Linked DNA regions of Homo sapiens: region 1 is linked to region 2. The links are contacts of gene promoters, found by promoter capture Hi-C in blood cells and fetal thymus (Javierre and others, 2016). All regions are on one chromosome and are shown on one strand. The core of a region is centred on a gene start or on the middle of the fragment in contact, and the rest is flanking DNA. Distances in the headings are between cores, read along the strand shown.

Evidence for each region. The method cuts DNA at HindIII sites, captures the fragments that hold promoters and counts their contacts. A CHiCAGO score of 5 or more calls a contact.
Region 1: a contact is called between the fragment with the promoter of LIMA1 here and the fragment with the promoter of TMT1A in region 2, in 5 of 17 cell types (erythroblasts, M2 macrophages, megakaryocytes and 2 more). The highest score is 13.0, in erythroblasts.

Annotation. Positions count from the first base shown.
Region 1 is chr12:50,280,360-50,285,002 of GRCh38, forward strand. It overlaps LIMA1 (LIM domain and actin binding 1), which reads right to left and starts at 3,161. Exons shown (of 11, transcript NM_016357.5): 1 at 3,061-3,161. LOC107984505 (a long non-coding RNA gene) reads left to right here and starts at 3,262. Exons shown (of 2, transcript XR_001749144.2): 1 at 3,262-3,523. RefSeq lists a silencer at 3,072-3,381. The HindIII fragment of the contact is 1,384 bases long and covers 2,453-3,836 here.
Region 2 is chr12:50,923,652-50,928,216 of GRCh38, forward strand. It overlaps TMT1A (thiol methyltransferase 1A), which reads left to right and starts at 1,364. Exons shown (of 2, transcript NM_014033.4): 1 at 1,364-1,885. The coding sequence starts at 1,388. RefSeq lists enhancers at 478-687, 1,701-2,244. The HindIII fragment of the contact is 3,129 bases long and covers 1-2,451 here.

The sequences.
Region 1 (4,643 bases), core at 1,911-4,410, 640 kb before region 2:
ATGTTAGCTAGGATGGTCTCGATCTCCTGACCTCGTGATCCTCCCGCCTCGGCCTCCCAAAGTGCTGGGATTACAGGCGTGAGCCACCGCGCCCGGCCCAGGGTAGTAGTATTAAGAAATTATTTAAAAGAACATCAAAAGAATGTAAAATTTTCATGGTATCATGTTAACTTCTTATGAGTGGACACAGGAAGTCTCTAGAAAGTTTTCACGTGTCAAGAAATCATCTGACATGCTGAATAATGGATTGCTTGTTAGGTCAAACTCCATCCTTTTTATGAAAAGAGGTCTTCAGTAGCACAATAATTTGACTGAGTCTTGAGGACTCTGCACCCAGCTTCAGAATAAACTCATCAGTATGGTCCTACCTTATCATCCACCATAGACTCTCAACTCCATAATCATTAAGTAGAAACTACTTCATTTACAACCACTGGTTTGTTAGTAACCTGAAGAGGCTGTGTTAAGTAACCTCACCTGGAGATTACTGTATGCAATCTAAAATGAAGTACCTTAAGTTTCTATCAAAAAACATACAGTGAAAGACAATAGCAAACTTAAAAAACAATTGCCTTTTCTAATGGAAATTACTAACTTAGGACTCGTTATACATTTTCCTATCTGCAGAAAGGGTACAATTCTAATCTAAAAGTCATCTATCTAATAGTGTATGGAATTAAGAATGCCTGAAACTAGTTTCACTGTCAATTTAAATAATAAATTCTTCCAATTTGTGGTTAGGTGCCCTATTATGCCAAAGATGTCTAATGAACTCCCACACTCTCAATATTCTTTTGTGTCTGTGTGTGTGTCTTTGATAAATTTTTTTGGTACGAGGGCTCTAAGTTAATTGCAGTTAACTGGTGAAAAATACCAGAGAAAATATAAGAATTTGAAACCTGAAGAAACACTAGTCAAAATTATACTTAAAAACATTTTTCCCCACCCACCTATCTACCCTGTCTTCCCCACCCAAGAAAAAAAGAAAGAGAAAAACATTTTGAGGGCATCTTAGCAGGAAAAAGTATCCCCTGTCACCAAGATGTGAATTGTTTTAGCTTCTGAAGCTTTCTTTTAGAATTATTAGGTTGAAATTTAGCCCCACCTTTAACCAGAGTCTGGAACAAAGCTTGAGTGTACCAAGTTAAAGAAAGTTATACAATGAGGTAATTTTTACAAAATGGCACTCCTTTGCTAATGTTGCCAATATACTGTTCTCTTCCCAGGGACTACCTGATAACAACACTTCCCAGCCCAATACAGAACAGTGGAAACAGATCCAACTATTTACTAAATGCCACATTAACAACAGGGTCTAATCCCATTTTCCATAGGCCATAGAATTGGAGGAAGAGAGGGTAAGAAATATGAAAGTGATACAAATACATAGATTGAAGAGAATCACTCATTATTACTCAGAGGTTTTTGTTTTTAAGGAAAAGCAGAAGAGAGAATTAAAAAACAAAACAAAACACCTATATTCCCTATGCTCCTACAGTACCCTGGGCTGACCTCTAGTATAGAAATGACCTCACTAATACCATAAATTGTATGTGGATCTGTCTAACCCATTTGATTTTAAGTTCTTTTAGGGTAAAGACGTTTGGCACTTTGAATCTACAGTAGGACTGACATGAAAGGCACTCAATATTTTGTCCAAAGAATGAAATAAGTTCCTAAACTAATTACCTAGTACATTATATGTTGTTCTATCAATGCAAAACAAGAAAACATATATGAACACACACTTTTTTTTGCCTTCTTTCACGCCAACTCTATAATTTTTTGAAGATCTATCTAAAACGTGATCATCCTGCACCCAGGTTATACCTCTACAGGAACTTAGAACATGTTGTTAGGGGTCATGTTCTTTTGTGTCTACATCATACCTCAGAAGAAAGGATTGGTGTTATTTCATGGCTCCTGAAATATTTAGCATTTGTGAATAGTATTGGTAACCAAGCAGATAAAAGGTACTGTGTTAAACCATTTAAATCAAGAGCAAAAGAAAGAATACTTAATGCAAAAGAAAACCTCTCCCCAAAATGGGCATTGCCTTAAAAACTGATAACTCCCTAATTACCTTTGACTAACCTGAAAAGTCAAGTCAATTGAACCATCTGGATTAGGCAGATCTGGATTAGGCAGACTTATCTTTTATTTTTATTTATTTATTTATTTTTTTGTAGAGACAAGGGTCTCGCTAAGTTGCCTTGGCTGGTCTCAAACACCTGGGCTCAAGCGATCCTCCCGCCTCAGTTTCCCAAAGTGTTGGGATTATAGGCGTGAGCCACTGCGCCCGTCCAAGGCAGACTTTTGAAAGCTGGAATTAGGTGCAAGACAATAGTAGTTCAAATATCTCTCACCAGGATCAGCTAAACCGTTCTTGCAAGCATCAGTAAGGAGGCTAGGAAGGGTGCCAGATGGTTCGTTCCTAGCAGCTACAACTTCAAGCTTTAGTATGTGTAGCCAGGGGTGTACAATTACCTTACATTAACACCAACATATGTCGGGGGCAAGTGCCAGCGATATATACACGATAGCGATTCGGGGATGACACATCGGCTGCAAGGACTGCTATATTCTCAACATTCCTCAAAAGGGTGTAAGTGTCTTAAACAGAGTTCAGCTGGCGTAATGGAAGGGAGAAAAAATCGAAAAGAGAGGGAATGGCTGAAAATGAAGGAAAAAGAACAGTTGAATATTACAGTATTTCCCTGGAAGGAGGGTATTTGGAGTTTTAATGAATTGTCACCTTCCTCCACCACACCAGAAAGTATACAGTTAGAATGCAGTGTTCTCGGTGGGAGAGGACGGGGTATTTGCAGCTCCCGCCCTTGGGCAGCAAAGGCTCAGCCCGACATAAGCACTCCCCACCCAGCGCAGGCCCCAGAAGTGAGGAAAGAACGGAGGATCAGCGTCCCTCGACCCCTTATCTCGAGGGGGAGGGACTCACACTCCTTGCACTCCCCCCGCCCCAAAAGTCGAAGGAGAAAGAGGGTGTGGAGAGAAGCCGGGGTCTTCCCGCACTCTCCGGTTGTGGAGAGAGAAGGCCCTTACCTGGCTAAAAGCCGCCTTTCCTCTGCGCTGCTACCAGCCCTGTCACAGGTCCCGGCGCTCTACCTAGCGCACCTGTCGCGACCAAGCTGCTAACACCTACTGCTCCTGCGGCCCCGCCCCGGACCCCGCCCACCGCCGCGGGGGCGCGCACGCCAGACAGCCTCCCGTGCGGCCTCGGGCTGAGCGTGCGCGCCACCGGCTACGTGCCCAGCGCTCGCGTCTGCTCCAGTCGCTCTGGCGGTGCGGGGCGCTGGCGACGGGACAGGGTTTTTGCTGCCCGGGGCCTAGTCTACCTCGGCACGCTTTTCTCTGAAGGAGACACGCACTTGCACGACGTGGGCCTCTGTGCAGCTCTACTTTGTCCTTAACTCCTCTGACTCAACGTTATCGCAGTTTGACTCTGGAGCCACTCAGGTTTTTCCTAAGCTCAACTCTAGCCAGCTAGGTTCCTGGTGCTTTGGGGGTAAGTTGTGTGCAGGGAGGGTGTTTTACAGGAGGCTGTGTGGTGTAGTGGAAAAAGCTGAATTAAGTACATTAATCCTGAAAACGGTTTGACAAGGGCAGATGACGTCCAAGTTCTCCAACAGCTGTTTTTACTCCTCCATTCAGAATAGGAGCTGTGCTAATGGTTTGGAGACCGTCAATTGGCCTAGCACTTGGCCATCCTGCCCCCAAATTCTTGTCCCAGTTCCGTGCCAGCTGCATGATGCCTTTTGATAGTATCCTTCTTTCCTGTACCTCAAGCATAGTAGGGTTTCAGACCACAAGTTTTCTGAAGCTTTTCGGAATTCATGCAGCTTGATGCGTTATTAGTAGGGGCTGCTCGTGGGAAAACGCTTGTAATTACACTTCCTCAAGAAGTTAATGAAAATGTGTGAGAAGAGAGATTTCCAACAGGTGATGAATATGCCAGCCAGTTATTCCCTTCTTCCTTCAAATATCCAGCCTAGACTGATTTCTGGATAGGTATTGTAGAAATAAAAATTTCAGACAAAACAAACTTAGATTTTGAATCGGACAACAGTCAGAACCAAAAGAGGCTCAGACACCCCTGCTCTAGCTGCCCAGGCATCAAACTTTATAGGCTGAACACGAAAGTAAAGAAATTTGATTGGCTACAGCTAAGCGTTTGCCTTATTTGGGTATGGTCACATGGGAGGTCCCTAATTATATAACCACTTGGCTGGTTGTCTGTTTGTGATTGGTTGAAACTCCATTCAAAATCAGGTACAAGGGGCCGGGCGCGGTGGCTCACACCTGTAATCCCAGCACTTTGGGAGGCTGAGGCAGGCGGATCCCCTGAGGTTAGGAGTTCGAGACCAGCCTAGCCAACATGGCGAAGCACCGTCTCCACTAAAAATACAAAAATTAGCCGGACGTGGTGGTAAGTGCCTGTAATCCCAGCTACTCGGGAGGCTGAGGCACGAGAATGACTTGAACCCGGGAAGTGGAGATTGCAGTGAGCAGAGATCTCGCCACTGCACTCCAGCCTGGATGAGAGAACGAGACTCCATCTCAAAAAAACAAAACAAACAAAAGGTGCAAGGAATACCTCTAAATTTTGGGTTGCTTTCTGGGTACAA
Region 2 (4,565 bases), core at 114-2,613:
CCAAATGTGAATATTCTGGGAAATATTTTTATCCAAATTAGCTGAGTAATCGAGTAGTTAGGCACATTTTGAAGACTGAGGCTTGTCCTTTAAAAGAAGGGCAGCCCACAAACTGACTTCCTTGAGCCAAAAATTGTTTTAAAAGGGGAAGTACAGCCCAAAACAGTGATTTTAAAATATCAACAAAAAGAGTCAAATTCTGTAAAATATTTAAAGAGATTTATTCTGAGCCAAATATGAGTGACCATGTCCTGTGACACAGCCCTCGGGAAATCCTGAGAACATGTGCCCAAGGTGGTCAGGGTACAGCTTGGTTTTCTACATTTTAGGGAGACATGAGGCTTCAATCAAATACATTTAAGAAATACATTGGTTCAGTCCAGAAAGGCAGGACAACCCGACGCGAGGCAGGGAGCTTCCAGGTTATAGGTACGTTTTAAATTTTTCTGGTTGACAATTGGTTGAGTTTATCTAAAGACCTGGGATCAATAGAAAGGAAATGTCTGGGTTGCAATAAGAGTTGTGGAGACTGAAGTTTTATTATGCAGATGAAGCCTCCAAGTAGCAGGCTTCAGAGAGAATAGATTGTAAATGTACTTAAGGTCTGCGTTGATGTGAATGCCGGCTTGAGGTATAATGAGGCATATCTGACCCCCACTTCCCCTCATGGCCTGAAACAATCTCTCAAGTTAAATTTTAAAAGCGCCCTGGCCAAGGAGAAAGTCCATTCAGATGGTTAGAGGCCTTAGAACATTATTTTTGGTTTACAAAAACGTTGAGTTGTGAACACTGAGAGCCTCTGCCCAGAATGTAAAAGAGAGAATTCTTGCTGACTGTGGCCGGGCATGCATGTCCTTTCACTTCCTTTTTTTTTTTTTAAAAAAAAAAAAAAAAAAAAAAAAAACAGGGTTTGGGCGGGGGAAGTAAGGGGGATGTGTTATGATAAAGGGGCCTTGGCAGCACTCTTCTGGTGTGGTTTGACCAGGCTCCACCCACGAATTCTGTTTTCTTTTAGAGGTCACTGGAGAGCCCGGTGGGGTGTAAGTACACTGCGCTTATAAAACTCTAGCAGGAAGCTAGCAGCTGTCTCCAAACCCAGAGAAGGGGAAACAGGAATCGATTAGGAATAAAGGATTATAATCCACTTTCCTTCTGAGGAAAAGCTGGGAACCTTCTCATTTTGCCTTATGAAAACTAAGCTGAATCGACTGCTGCCAAACATCTATTAGGCAAAATTGGCCTCTTGCCCATGATTTGACTTTCCAGCACAGCCAGTTCTTTTTCTCCTCTGCAGCTGATTGGCTCTGGAGTGTGGCCAGAAGCCTCTCTCCTGCAATTAAAGGAGTCGGGTCTCTAACTGTTGATCTGTTTTTTTCCCTTCTGAGCAATGGAGCTTACCATCTTTATCCTGAGACTGGCCATTTACATCCTGACATTTCCCTTGTACCTGCTGAACTTTCTGGGCTTGTGGAGCTGGATATGCAAAAAATGGTTCCCCTACTTCTTGGTGAGGTTCACTGTGATATACAACGAACAGATGGCAAGCAAGAAGCGGGAGCTCTTCAGTAACCTGCAGGAGTTTGCGGGCCCCTCCGGGAAACTCTCCCTGCTGGAAGTGGGCTGTGGCACGGGGGCCAACTTCAAGTTCTACCCACCTGGGTGCAGGGTGACCTGTATTGACCCCAACCCCAACTTTGAGAAGTTTTTGATCAAGAGCATTGCAGAGAACCGACACCTGCAGTTTGAGCGCTTTGTGGTAGCTGCCGGGGAGAACATGCACCAGGTGGCTGATGGCTCTGTGGATGTGGTGGTCTGCACCCTGGTGCTGTGCTCTGTGAAGAACCAGGAGCGGATTCTCCGCGAGGTGTGCAGAGTGCTGAGACCGGTGAGTGAAAGGGTGTGAGGAGGACTAGTTAGTAGCAGCTATTATCATAGAGGGCAGGCCTGTCAATTTCAGGTGGCTGAAACATTTTAACATAAAAAGTAAACTACTAGAAAATACTGTAGAATTTTTTAAAATTTTAGCGTGGGAGAGAAGCTATAAAGAGAAAGATTGATAAATCTGAATATAAAAACTTAAAACTGCTATAAAGAAAAAACCTCCTGGCCGGGCACAGTGGTTCACGTCTGTAATCCCAGCATTTTGGGAGGCCAAGGCAGGCAGATCGCTTGAGGTCAGGAGTTCGAGACCAGACTGACCAATATGGTGAAACCCCATCTCTATTAAAAATACAAAAATTAGCCAGGCATGGTGGCAGGTGCCTGTAGGCAGGAGAATCGCTTGAACCTGGTGGGGCAGAGGTTAAAGTGAGCCAAGATTGCACCACAGCACTCCAGCCTAGGCAACAGAGTGAAACTCCATCTCAAAAAAAAAAAAAAAAAAAAAAAGAAAGAAAGAAAAAAAAGAATAAGAAAAAAAAACTCCCCAAAACAAAGTTAAACTACAAAACAAGCTTGGAAAAAATATTTGCCAGGGATGATAGACAAAGGGTTAACTTCCCTCATGTTAAAAGACATTACATGTCAATAAGATCAATATTTTTCAATAAGAAAAACAAAAGGGAAAATGGGCAAATAACAGGAACAGAAATGTAAACCAATTATAGGACAAAAGTGCTCAAACTTAAAGAGTTAATTAAAGGAGATACTAATTTTACCTATTATACTGTTAGGGACTTCTTTTAAGGTCAGTATAGGGTTGGGGTGGGTTTAGGGGACTGGACACCACCATACACATTAGAAGAGGTACCCTCTTTGGGTGGTATCTGATAATATCAAAATTTAAACCACACATACTCTTTTATCCACATGCAAAAACTTGTCCATACACAAGAATATTAAGTAGAATTTGTAATTGCACAAACTGGAAATAACTGAAATGTCTATCAATAGGATGCTATGTAAGTGAGTTGTCATATTGTATAAAGGAACACTGTGCAGCTGTCAGAAAGAACAAGAAGAGTTATCTGTGCTGATACTTAAAAATCCCCAAGGGATAATGTTTAATGAAAACAAAAAGCAATCAAGCCACAGAATGTTAGGTAGAGCGTAGGCCCACCACATGCCCATTGTGTGAGGCAGGGAGAGGAGATACATATATGTGTATAAGTTAATGGGAATGACAGACAAGTAACTATTAACAGTGGTTGCCTTTGGGGAATGGGATTGGATTCAGGGAAAGAATTACTTTTCATTTTAAACCTTTCCGTAAAGTCTGTAATTCTTTATACCTGTATGTAGTTTTCACATATTACCCTTATTATTTTTAGCTAGTTTAAAATCGTTTTATATTCTGAACAAAGTTGAAGATATGGATATCTTAACATTTGAATTTACTCTTCTGGGGGAAAGGCATGTTTTGTAATCCCCAGTTTTCATTTTTTGTTGAGACAGGGTTTCCCTCTGTCACCCAGGCTGGAGTGCAGTGGCATGATCACAGCTCACTGCAGCCTTGACCTGCTGGACTCAAGCAATCTTTCCGTCTCAGCCTCCCCACCCTCCCAGCAGCTGGGACTACAGGCATGCACCACCACACCCAGCTAGTTTTTGTATTTTTGTAGAGATGAGGTTTCGCCATGTTGCCCAGGCTGGTCTCAAACTCCTGGGCTCAAGTGGTCTGCCCACTTTGGCCTCTCAAAGTGTTGGGATTACAGGTGTGAGCCACCATGCCCAACCATCAGTTTTATTTTCTAATAGAGGAAGTTCCTCAGGAAGAAAAGAACTTGGAGATAGGGTTTAGGGAAAATCATACAATCCTGTCTTGGCTCAATATCAGAGTAGTAAATAAAAAAGGACTGATTCTTATACCCAAATGCTGGGTTCTTATATGCTAAGACTGGGCACCAACTGGCACATTAGTAGATGTTTTGCTTACAGTGTTACTAATCTCCCAACACCGCTGCAAGGCAGGTAATTATTATCTCAGTTTTCCAGTGCCAAAAATCAATTGAACTCTTAAAGTTATCACATTCGTGATAGTCTTCCTTAGCTCCTGCCAAGCACCCACTCTCTGCTGGATATAACAAGGGAACTTTATTACATTTTCATTTAACCCTGTCAACAGTCCTCTAAAGTACATATCTTCATGTTAGGACAAAGAAACAGACTCAGAGAGATTAAGGAATTTGCCCAAAGTTACACAGCTAGTAGACATGGCTCTCTTTAATGCAAATGCAAATATTCCTTTTTTTTGAAACAGAGTCTTGCTCTGTCGCCCAGGCTGGTGTACAGTGGCATGATCTTGGCTAACTGCAGCCTCCACCTCCCAGGTTCAGTGACTCTCCTTGCCTCAGCCTCCCGAGTAGCTGGGTTTACAGGCACATGCTACCACGCCTGGCTAACTTTTATATTTTTAGTAGGGATGGGGTTTCACCATGTTGGCCGGGCTGGTGTCCAACTTCTGGCCTCAAGTGATCCACCCACCTTGGCCTCCCAAAGTGGTGGGATTACAGGTGTGAGCCACCGCGCCCAGCCAAATGCAAATGCAAATATTCTTACCACTGTACCACAGTGCTTGTTATTGGGGTTTTCATCTTTCTGATTTCAACATTGCTATCACTCTTGCT